2 separate regions of the Homo sapiens genome follow, and region 1 is linked to region 2. Evidence: promoter capture Hi-C in human tissues and cell types (Jung and others, 2019). All regions are on one chromosome and are shown on one strand. The core of a region is centred on a gene start or on the middle of the fragment in contact, and the rest is flanking DNA. Distances in the headings are between cores, read along the strand shown. Region 1 overlaps F8 (coagulation factor VIII). Region 2 holds the start of RAB39B (RAB39B, member RAS oncogene family).

What was found. The method cuts DNA at HindIII sites, captures the fragments that hold promoters and counts their contacts. A contact is called where the count stands out against the background at its distance.
Region 1: a contact is called between a fragment that was not itself captured here and the fragment with the promoter of RAB39B in region 2, in 1 of the 25 tissues and cell types used here (aorta).

The regions. Positions count from the first base shown.
Region 1 is chrX:155,013,514-155,019,885 of GRCh38, reverse strand. All of the region lies in intron 1 of F8 (coagulation factor VIII), which reads left to right. Among named protein-coding and RNA genes, the nearest start is that of F8, 6.0 kb to the left of the region's middle. The HindIII fragment of the contact is 7,588 bases long and covers 1-6,372 here.
Region 2 is chrX:155,260,487-155,266,603 of GRCh38, reverse strand. RAB39B (RAB39B, member RAS oncogene family) reads left to right here and starts at 2,113. Exons shown (of 2, transcript NM_171998.4): 1 at 2,113-2,530; 2 at 5,375-6,117. The coding sequence starts at 2,316. The coding sequence ends at 5,801. RefSeq lists silencers at 2,066-2,115, 2,126-2,335. The HindIII fragment of the contact is 17,880 bases long and covers 1-6,117 here.

The DNA.
Region 1 (6,372 bases), core at 2,180-4,679, 250 kb after region 2:
ATAAGATAGTTTTCTCCTATTTCCATTTATGAGTGCTTAGTACCAAATAGAGATAAGCTATTGGTTTGTGTATTTTCAGCTTTTTCTTTTGAGCCTGGGTCTCATTTTGTCACCCAGGCTGGAGTGCAGTGGGGTGATCTCACCTTACTGCAGCCTCAACCTCCTGGATTCAAGCAATTCTCCTGTATATCAGCCCCCCAAGTAGCTGGGACTACAGGAGCAGGCCACCATGCCCGGAAAATTTTTGTATATTTTTTAGAGATGGGTTTTTGCCATGTTACCCAGGCTGGTTTTCAACTCCTGAGCTCAAGCATTCCCCCCACCTCAGCCTCCCAAAGAGCTAGGATTACAGGTTTGAGCCACCGCACCCAGCCATTGTATATTCATCTTAAATCTAGCTACCTTACCAAATTTGCCTATTAATTCTAGTAATTTTACCCTAAAGTCTCTGTGAGTATTGAATCATATCATAAGTTAAATGAGACAGATTTTAGCTCATTTCCAATATTTATAGCCAGTTATTTCATTTTCTTATCTTATTGAATTTATTAGAAAACAAGAGCAAATGTTAAATAATAACAATGAAAGTGAACATTCCTTCTACTCTATGATTTTACTTGAAATAATTTTTGTATTTTGCTATTTAGAGTAACATTTGCTGTTTTGGTTTTTGTAAATGGTGTTTATTCTATTCTCATTTGCCACAAAATGTTTATCATAAATAAGTTTTCAGCAGCTGGTATCATCTGAATTGTCTTCTTTGATATGCTGATGAACAAATTATGTTCATAGATGTCCTGACACTAAATACCCTTACATTCTTGGAGTAAAATCTACTATTCATGGAATTTGATCATTAGTGGGTTCTATGTACTATTTCTTTAGACTATTCTTAGTAGATTTTCACTACTCAACCTACTAATAATAATAAACAAAGTTTTGTTGGCTTTATCAAATGAATTGATGAGTACTCCATCTTTTTCTATTGCTTAGAATAGCTTAAGTAACATTTGAATTATCCATTGTCTAAAAGTTAGGTGAGACTCACTTATGAATCCATTTGGTCCTAGTGGCATTTGCAATATCTTTAATCACCCCTCCAGGCTCTTCTATGATAATCAGTCAATTCAAGTTTCAACTTCCAATAATTATATACCTTTCTAGGAAGTAACTTTATTTATTTTTTCAATTTTGTTGCCACAGTGTTGCATGTAGCACTCACTCATGATTCTTTTACTCCACATTATCTGTAGTTATGTGCCCTTTCTTATTCCTAAATTCCTCTATCTTTGCTATTTATCTTTTTTTCCTTGAATAAGCTTGCCAATGACTTGTCTATTTTGTTGCTGGTGGTGCTCTTTTCAAAGAATGGGCTTTTGGATTTTTTTTTTTTCTAGTTGGTATAAAGCATTTTTATTTTCACTGAGCAGAAAAAGAAGCTATTGATTCATTAACTGTGCTGCTTTATTGGCATGTAGCTATGCACTGTTCACACATTAATATATAAAACTCGTCAGTCTGTTTTATTTTGTCTGATGGGAAAACATGAACAGTGAGATTTCTTATGCAAAAAGTGAACAGTTCAACTATGCTAGCTCCATATACCTTTATTAACATTCCAGAGACTTATCCTCTCAACATGATCTGATTTCTGTAGGATAACTTTTCAGGAAAAGTATTTTCTGATCAGTGAAGCTTGGAGATATAAATAAGCAATCGGCCAGGTATGGTGGTTCATGCCTGTAATCCCAGCACTTTGGGAGGCCGAGGCAGGCAGATCACCTGAGGTCAGGAGTTTGACACCAGCCTAGCCAACATGGCAAAACTCCGTGTCTACCAAAAAAAAAAAAAAAATTAGCTGGGCATGGTGGTGCTCACCTGTAATCCCAGCTACTGAGGAGGCTGAGGCAGGAGAATTGCTTGAACCTAGGAGGCGGAGGTGGCAGTGAGCTAAGATTGTGCTCAGCCTAGGTGACAGAGTGAGACTCCATTTCAAAAAATAAAAAAATAAAAAAAAGCAGTATCTCTCATATTCATTAACTGGACCCTGACTTTCTTAAAGCTCACCCCAAAGCTGAAGTCCATGAAGGCACTAGTTCTCAAACTTCAGTGTGCATAAGAATCACTCGGGAAGCTTATTAAAATTTACATTCCTAGGCCCCATCCTCAGCAAACTATTTAGTCCCCAGGTAATTCTATCCCACCCCACCCCAGCTTTATTGTGGTATAATTGACAAATAAAAGTTGTATATATTTAAGGTGTACAAGATAATGTTTTGATGTAAGTATACATTGTAAAATGGTATAGCATGAAGGGTTTTCTTTTCATTTTTTTCAGAATAGTTTGTAATATCTTCTTTGATTTCATCTTTGATAATCTAGACGTATGATTTTAATTGCTTTTTAAATTTGTTTATCAAGTTAGTTTGTAGTATTTGGGTCAACATTGAATATCCTGTTAATTTCCTATTGCTGTGTAACAAACTACATCAAATGTATCAGCTTATGACAGACCCATTTACTGTCTCACAGTTTCTGTGAGTTAGAAGTCCAGGTGGACTCAGCTGGATACTCTGTGCAGGGTCATACAAGGCCAACACCAAGGTTTTAATAGGGCTGCACTCCTTAGTGAAAGCTCTTGGGGAGAATCTGCTTACAGGCTCATTTGGAATGTTAGCAAATTCAGTTCCTTCTCTCACTTTCCATGTAGTGCCCTCTACCAGCAATGGTGCATCAACACTCTCTCATGCTTGGAATTGCTCTGACTTCAATTTTCCGTGCATATCTCTGGCCTTTTTTGCCTCTCTCTTTTACTTTTAAGGACTCATGTGATTACATTGGGCCGACCTGGGTAATTCAGAATACTCTCCCCATCTCAAGGTCAGCTAATCAGCCCCTTAATTCCATCTGCAAAGTTTAATTTGCCACATAATATATTTTTGGACATGACACCAAGGAGCAAAGGTGATGTGGGCCAAATTTTTACCTGCCACAGGTATAGTTTACATACAATGAAGCTCATCAATTTTAAATATGCAGTTTGATGAGTTTTGACAAATGCATACACTTGCATAACCACCACCCTAATCAACATGCATTTACATCAACCCTCCTGCAACTTTTTAATGAGTCTCTCCCACTGACCTGGCCTCAGCCAATAAACTGCTATCTGGAAGTTACAGATTTGTTTTCACATGTTCTAGAATTTTACATCAGTGGAATCATACGGTATGTATTCTTCTATGGCTTTTTTTCTTCAGCATCATGATTTGGAAATTCATGCAGGTTGTTGTATAAAGTATTTCTATCCTTTTTATTGCTGATTACTGCTCCATTATGGGATTATATCATAATTTTGGATTATTTCCAGTTAGGAGCAAATACAAATAAACCTGCTATGAACAGTGCTCCACATGTTTTGTGTGAACATCTATTTTCATTTATCTTAGTTAAATATCTAGGAGTGGAATTGCTGGATCATATGGTAAGTGCATGTTTAAGAGAAACTGCCAGACAGATTTCTTGAACGTACCATTCTATACTCCCACCAGCAATGCATGAGAGTTCCAGTTGCAATATATCCTGGACAACATTTGATGTTGCCAGTACTTAATGACTGCACAGTGGTATCTCACTATACTTTTTTTTTTTTTTGAGATGGAATCTCATCCCATCACACAGGCTGGAGTGCAGTGGCGCAATCTCAGCTCAACATCTGCCTCCTAGGCTCAAGCAATTCTCATGCCTCAGCCTCCTGAGTAGCTAGGACTATGGTCACACGCCACCGTGCCCAGCTAATTTTTGTATTTTTGGTAGAGACGGGGTTTTGCCATGTTGGCCAGGCTGGTCTCAAACTCCTGGCCTCAAGTGATCCACCCGCCTCGGCCTCCCAAAATGTTGGGATTACGGCTTGAGCCACTGCACCTGGTTATACTTTTAATTTGCGTGTCTCTGATGACTAAAGATGTTGAGCATCTTTGCATGTGCTAATTAGCCATTCCTATATCTTCTTGGAAGTGTCTATTCAAATCATTGGTCCTTTGTTTTTAAACGTAGTTTCAACTTTTATTTTAGACTGAGGAGGTACATGTGCAGGTTTGTTACATGAGTATGTTGCATGGTGCTGAAGTTTGGGTTACGAATGAATGATCCTGTCACTGAAGTAGTGAACATAGTACCCAATAGGTGGTTTTTCACTCCTTGCTACCCTTCCTCCTCCCTCTTTCCTCTAGTCGTCTCCAGTGTCTATTATTCTATGTCCATGTGTTCTCATCATTTAGCTCCCACTTCTAAGTGAGAACATATGGTATTTGGTTTTCAGTTCCTGTGTTAATTCACTTAGGATAATGGTTTGCCAGTTTTTAATTGGGTTGTTTGTCTTGTTATTGTTGAGTTTTGATAATTTTTTATATATTCTGGGTACAAGACTATTCAGAGGTACCTGTTTTGAATGTTTTTTTCCAATCTATGGCTTGCATTTTCATTTTCCAAATGGTGTCTTTCAAATAGTGGAAATTTATAGTTGTAGTTAAGTCCAATTTAGCTTTTCTTCTTCTATGATTCATGCTTTTTTTTCCCCTGTCCTAGGAAATCTTTGCCCACCTCAAGTTCACAAAGCCTTTCTTCTGTTTTCTTCTAGAACTTTTATCATTTTAGCATTAGTATTTAGGTTTATAATACATTTTGAGTTAAATTTTCTGTATGGTGTGACTTTTCTTTCTCTATTGAATTCCCTTGGTGCCTTTGTAGAAAATTAAATGACTGTATATAGGCAAATCTGTTTATGGATTCTCTAGTTCCATAGATGTGTATATCTGTGCTTATGCCAGTACCAGATTGTTTTGATTGTTGTAACTTTATAGTAAGTCTTAATATCAGGCAGTCTAAAACCTCCAACTTACTTTTTTATTGAAATTGCTTTTGATATATTTAGGCTTTTATATTTCTGTATTAATTTTATAGTCAACTAGCCAACTCCACCAAATAGCCAACTGGGATTTTGACTGGAATTGAATTGAATCTGTAGATCAATTTGGGGAGAATTGACATTTAAACAATACTGAATCTTTCAATACAACAACATGGTATGGCTTTGTTTCTTTAAATTTTCTTTAATTTCCCTCTAGGATATTTTGTAGCCTACAGAGTAGTTCTTGCAAGAATTATATTAATTGTATCCCCAAGTATTTTGAGGGATTCGATGCTATTGTTAATTGTATCATTTTTATTTGTTTTCGTTTTCCAATCATTTGTTACTAAAATATAGAAATTCAATTGATTTTTGTATATTGACCTTGTTCACTCTAATCTTGTTAATTTGCATTTTAGCTCTAGTAGCGTTTTGCACTTCTTTTAGAATTTCTACATATACAATAATGTTGTCTGCAAATAAAGACAGTTTGCTTCTTCCTTTCCAAACTGGATGCTTTTTATTTTTTTTTTCATGCCTTACTGTACTGGCAAGGGCCTCCAGTACAATGTTAGATAGAACTGATGATAGCAGAATCCTTGTCTTCTTCCTGATTTCAGAGGGAAAATATTCATTATTTTACCATTAAGTACAATTACTTGTAAATTTTTTCATAGATGCCCTTTGTCAAATTGAGGAAGTTTCCTTCTATTCTTGGTGTGAGAGTTTTTATCAAGATTTGATATTAGATTTTGTCAAATGCTTTTTCTGCATCTATTCAAATGGTCATATGGTTTATCTTGTTTATTCTGTTATGGTGAATTACCTTGATTGATTTTTTAATGAGGAACTAGCTATGTATTCCCAGGGAAAAAATCCACCTGGTTGTGACATATTACATTGGTAATATTTTCGCTATGGACTGAATTGTCTCCACCTCCCCCCACCCCAAATTCATATGTTGAAGTCCTAACTCTCAAGATGATTATATTTGGAGATAGGGCTTTTAGGAGGTAAACAAGGTTAAATGAGGCCATAAGGATGGAGTCCTAATCTGATAGGACTGGTGGCCTCATAAGAAGAGAGAAGGTTCTCTCTCTACACTCATGCACTGAGGAAAAGCCATGTGAACATACAGCGAGAAGGCAGCCATCTACCAGCTGGGAAGAGGGCTCCACTAGAAACTGACCGTGCTGGCACCCTGATATTGGATTTCCAGCCTCCGGAACTGTGAGAAAATAAGTTTCTGTTGTTTAAGTCACCCAATCTCTAGTATTTTGTTATGGCAGCCCTGGCCAACTAAAACTGTTTTGTTAAGGGTTTTGGTGGTGATGGTGGTTTTTTAGTTTTTGCGTCTGTGTTCATGATGGATATTTGGCTGTGATTTTCTTATAATGTCATTGTCTGGTTTTGATATAAGAGTGGTATTAGTCCGTTCTAATGCTGCTATGAGGACATACCCG
Region 2 (6,117 bases), core at 864-3,363:
GCAAATCAAACTAGAATAAAGTACCACTTCACATCCATGTTAGAGAGAATGTGGAGAAATTGGAACCCCATAGGCTGCCAGTGGGATGTAATATGGTACAGCCACTGTGAAAAAGTCAGGCATTTCATCAAAGGGTTAAACATAGAGTTGCCACAGGACTGAGGAATTCCGTTCTTAGGTATAAATCCCAAAAAACTGAAAACAGATATTAAAAAAAAAAACCTGGCACATGAATATTCGATGGTAGGATTATTTAGAATAGCCAAAAGGTGGGAACAACCCAAATGTCCCTCAATGAATGAATGGATAAACAAGATATGGTCTATCCATATGATGGAATAGTATTCAGCCACAAAAAGGAATGAAGTACTGATACTTGCTACAGTGTGAATGAACCTTGAAAACATTATGCTAAGTGAAAGCAGCCAGTCACAAAAATGCACATATTATATGATTTCATGTATATGAAATGTTCAGAATAGGGAAATTTATAGAGACAGAAAGTACATTAATGGTTGCCAAAGGCTGGAGGAACATGGGATAGAGAGATGATAGCTAAAAGGTTCTGGGTTCCTTTTTTTAAAAAATATATATACATATTTTATTATACTTTTAGTTCTAGGGTACCTGTGCAGAACGTGCAGGTTTGTTACATATGTATACGTGTGCCATGTTGGTGTGCTGCACCCATTAACTCGTCATTTACATTTACATTAGGTAAATGTAATCCCTCCTAATGCTATCCCTCCCCCCTCCCCCCACCCCTCTGGGTTACTTTTTGAAGTGATAAAAATGTTATAAAATTAACTGTGGTGATAGTTGTATATATCTGTGAGTATATTAAAAACCTATGCTAAGAATTGTTCACTTTAAATGGGTGAATTGTACAGTATGTGAATTTTCATGTTAATGAAGCTGATTTTTTTTAAAGAGTAAGGCAACGATAAAAGATTACACATAGAAGGCCGGGCGCGGTGGCTCACGCCTGTAATCCCAGCACTTTGGGAGGCCGAGGCGGGCAGATCACAAGGTCAGGAGATCGAGACCATCCTGGCTAATACAGTGTAACCTTATCTCTACTAAAAATACAAAAAATTAGCCGGGCGTGGTGGCGGGCACCTGTAGTCCCACCTACTCGGGAGGCTGAGGCAGGAGAATGGCATGAACCCGGGAGGTAGAGGTTGCAGTGGGCCGAGATCGCGCCACTGCACTCCAGCCTGGGCGACAGAGAGAGACTCTGTCTCAAAAAAAAAATAAAATAAAATTACACATAAAAAATACAAAGGATATGAAGAGACAATTCCCAGAAGAGGAAATGAAATGGTCAATACACAAGACTTGGTATTGACCTCATCAGTAGTCAGAGAAATGTAAAAATAAAGCAATGAGACATATTTTTATTTAACTAAATTCTATTGAGAAGAATTAAGAAAGAATAAAACATACATATGATGCTTGAAATAATGCAGAGCGATGGTCTTTTCACACATTGCTGGGTAGAATTTAAACTGTTAAATAGTTTTGGAAAGTAGAATGCCCATGTCCGTTAAATTTAAAATACTTATACTCTTTGAATTCATGGCCCCTTTTTTAAGACTGTAGCTCACAGAAATAAAATACTTGTGGCTACACTTTAAAATAAGTTATGACAAAAGGGAAATTAGGTGGAAATGGAAAGATATTTATGTTGCTTTATTAATTGCAAAAAGCAATTATTAATTGAAAGTAAGGCCCCAGTTTAATTTTTGTAAAAACAAACAGCAATAAATGCATATAGGAATACAAACACATATAATATTTGTGTGTTTATGTGAGCATGGAAACACTTGTAGACTAATATATAATTATGTGCCTTCCCTTTTTTGTGCAGTTTTGTATTGCTTTGCTAGTTTCAATGAAAAGGTATGACATTGGCAGTTTGAACGACAGAGAACAGTTTTAATGAACAGAGGGTGGGTGGGGTAGTTAGAAAGGGAGGGATCGCGCTAATGTTGCAGCCATTTTGTGTGCGCTCCTCTTACAGATAGTGCGGCGGCCCAGGCGTCGCGTCTACGCGGGGGATTACAGTAACCCGGTTGTCAGTGATGAGTCAGAGTGCGTGGTGCTGATGCTGCTGCCATTTCATCACCTTTGCGAGCGCAGCATCCATCCCTCCGCTCTCCCGGCGCCTGGGCCTACCCAGCTTCGGGCTCCCAGGCCAGCGATGCGCTCGCGGCTGAGCTAGATCCTGCCGAGCCGCGCTCTCTGAGGCGTCGGCGGGGCGCCCCCTCCCGCCGTCCCCGGTCCGGGCCAAGGAGACCTGCAGAGCCGCGGCCATGGAGGCCATCTGGCTGTACCAGTTCCGGCTCATTGTCATCGGGGATTCCACAGTGGGCAAGTCCTGCCTGATCCGCCGCTTCACCGAGGGTCGCTTTGCCCAGGTTTCTGACCCCACCGTGGGGGTGGATTTTTTCTCCCGCTTGGTGGAGATCGAGCCAGGAAAACGCATCAAGCTCCAGATCTGGGATACCGCGGGTCAAGAGAGGTTCAGGTGGGAGCGCAGTCCGGGCCCGCAAGCAGTGGGAGGGTCTTCGGGGTTTGCACCGCCTCTGGGGAGAGAGGACTTCCTGGTTCTAGGTGCGGTCCAGGAGGGCAACACCAAGGGTCTTGAGGATTCTGCCGAAGCCCACCTTCGGCTAACCCGGAGTTTAGTGCAAGGAAAGAAGCGCCCTGGCAGGGAAGGCCGGTCAATAACACATATTGCTTGCACCACAACTCCACCAACCTGCCCTTTGGTGGCTAACAAACTAGCTGGAATTGATCTCTGTATCTGTAATTCATCAATCTCAGTCCCTATGTTACATACTTTCAAAAACGTTCCCAGGTCATCCTAACATAACTGACAGAGATTTAAATACATAAATACATGTGTATTATGTTTTATTTCCACATCTGTGTGTGTGCACATATATATGCTAACATATGTTCTAACATGAAATAGATACGATTGATTCCTTCTTGCAACCAGCACACATTCAGTGATCATCTACTATGTGCCAGACTCTGGGCTTGTTCCTGGGAAAACAGTGTGAGGAGACTCACACAAGGGGATGCCATGTAATCTAAACAGACAAAGCCCCTTCATTCTTGGAACTTCTGTGCTAACATAGTTGAGGGAAATAGATAATCAGCAATTACGAAAGTGTGTCTTGCTCATATTTGTATGCCCACTCCCTACTGTAACACTTGGCACAAAATGAACATGCTTAATTTCAATCAATGAATTCATTGAATAATCAATGAATATGTTTACTTTCACTCAGAACCCTTTGCTTTTCTATTGTAGCATGTATTATTTGTAATTATATGTATGAACACAGAGGAGGAAAGGTTAACTGGAGAAGATGAGACCGGATGAGTATGACTGCCTAAGCAAAGACAGGAAACGCCCAGGGATAGGAAACAGCATGAATAAAGACAGAAGTGAGAGGGAGCAGAGTGTACACAGAAAACTTTGCAGAGAACAATTTGAACTAAAGTAGAGCAGCAGGAACCAGATCAAGAAAACTCAATAGCCCAAGTTTATGATCATTTACTCATTTATCTATTGAAAACTAACTAAGCATAGAAGATACTGGTTGGGTAATTGAAGAGGGGTAAGGAGAAGAAATAATTACAAACTTAAGTTACCTCCAGCTCCCCACTTCCACAAACACCACTGTGGAAAATATCCTTGTACAGGTTCACTTTGAACTTGCGATTGCATTTCTCCTAAGCAAAGAAAGGTATCTTTTATGTGTTTGTTGGAATTTCTTTCTATATGAACAGCCTGTTCATATCCACTGCTTATTTATTTATTGGGCAATATGGACTTGTAAGAGTACTTTATAGATTAAGAATATTAACCCTTTCCTGTCATGTATGTTGTAAGATATATTCCTAGTTTATCATCTGTCTTTTCACATTATTTAAGATTTTTTAATGTAGGGAAGAATTTAAGGTTTATGTAGCCTTATGTCCATGCTTAGAAGGCCTTTGTCACTTTCTTTGCTAAGTACTCACAAACAATTAATGTAATAATATATTCCAGAGTTTTGACAGTGATCTACAGCTTGCTTGTTGATTTCTTGAATCAACCTTCTCACAAATCAAAACCTTTGTTTGTTCATGTCTAAATTTTCTGGTAAATCTACCATTCTCCATGAATCTTCAAACCTAAGAGACGAGAAATGCTTTCAGTCCCCAGGGCTGATTTGCCTGATTTTGGAGACTTAAAGTCATTTGTAAGTTTTACTTTTACCATCATCTAGCTTGGACTGTAGGTCCCTGGACAATGCTTGTTCTGCTAACATTGAGCCATTTTCTCTAAGCTATTGAGTCCTTCGTTGTCTATCTTCTTTATCTGAGGAGACAGAAAACCTAAAAATAGACATAGGTAAAAAAAATCACAGTAGTCTAAAGCAAGTGACTGCAGAGACAAATAGGTCCATACCCTGTAATAAGCTTTAATACACTGTAAGCAAAGTGCCATAATGTATATTTATAATGAGGTTCCTCAAGTCAAGAAGTTAAAACATGTGAAGTTTCTTCTGATGGCTCCTGAGTTGAGTTGGCCTCTCTGAAATGTGTCAGGAAACAGGGCTGAGAGGCACTTTGCCTGAACCCTTCGCCATCTCTCTTTTTCCCATTCCCACAGGCCTTGAAAATAAAAAATAAAATTGTGTTTCTCCTCACAGAAGAGATTGAGGATCCCTGTTAGCTAATAATAATAATAATAATAATAATAAACAATAATAATAATGGAAAGAGAAAAAAACATGGTAATGATAAATGGAAAAAATGGAGTAGCAAGATACCTACTTTAAATATTTTGTTAACTATCATAAATTCATTTCTATGTTTTAAAAATCCTGTTTCAACTGCTAGCATTTGTAATGAACTCTCCACGTCACAGAACACTTTAATATCCATTGTTTCATTTTGCCTCATGGTAACACTGTGACTTGGGTATCCTATTTTGCAGAAAAGGAAGTCTCTGTCAGTTATTCAGATTTGGGGGGTGGGAGAGTTAGTTGTAGTTTTACCTGAAGGCAAGAAATAGAACTCAGTTATGTCCCAGGGTCACTCTCCAGTGCTGAATCCATGGAAAATGCCTAAAAGTTCATGAACATTCGTTTCTAGAAGATGCCCATCTCAAAGTTTGGCCCAATTGGAAACTCACATATTAGTAGTAGTATGGAATGCCATTTGTATTCCTTTGTTTTTTTAAAAAAAAAGAAAATCATTTTTATTAAAGGACTGTGTCACTAACCAGGAACACTTGAATATACTGAGTTCATTGACATGCAGAAGTTTGGGCACAGCCTTTACTCTTTACTTCTTTCTTGTGTTTTAGATCCATCACTCGCGCCTACTACAGGAACTCAGTAGGTGGTCTTCTCTTATTTGACATTACCAACCGCAGGTCCTTCCAGAATGTCCATGAGTGGTTAGAAGAGACCAAAGTACACGTTCAGCCCTACCAAATTGTATTTGTTCTGGTGGGTCACAAGTGTGACCTGGATACACAGAGGCAAGTGACTCGCCACGAGGCCGAGAAACTGGCTGCTGCATACGGCATGAAGTACATTGAAACGTCAGCCCGAGATGCCATTAATGTGGAGAAAGCCTTCACAGACCTGACAAGAGACATATATGAGCTGGTTAAAAGGGGGGAGATTACAATCCAGGAGGGCTGGGAAGGGGTGAAGAGTGGATTTGTACCAAATGTGGTTCACTCTTCAGAAGAGGTTGTCAAATCAGAGAGGAGATGTTTGTGCTAGTCAGTTCTTTTATTTCCAAAACATGCTCTCCTACTTGAACTGAAAAGTAAGAGAAATAAATAGAATCTTTGTGTAACTGATGAGAACTCAACCTCCATTTGGATACCAAGTGAGCCTCCCTCTCAGGGGGACTCTGACAGACTCGTGTGCGGGTGGATGGGGGTGCCTGAGTGCTGTGACCAAGGGACTGAATTGCTGACATGGGCCAGGCCAGGCACTGTTTTGTGGCCCATGCTAGGCAGTGGCTGCTCCATGAGCCCTTTGTGGACCACATGTTAAAGGCCTGGGGTTTAGGAAGCTAAGTCCCAGGAAAACA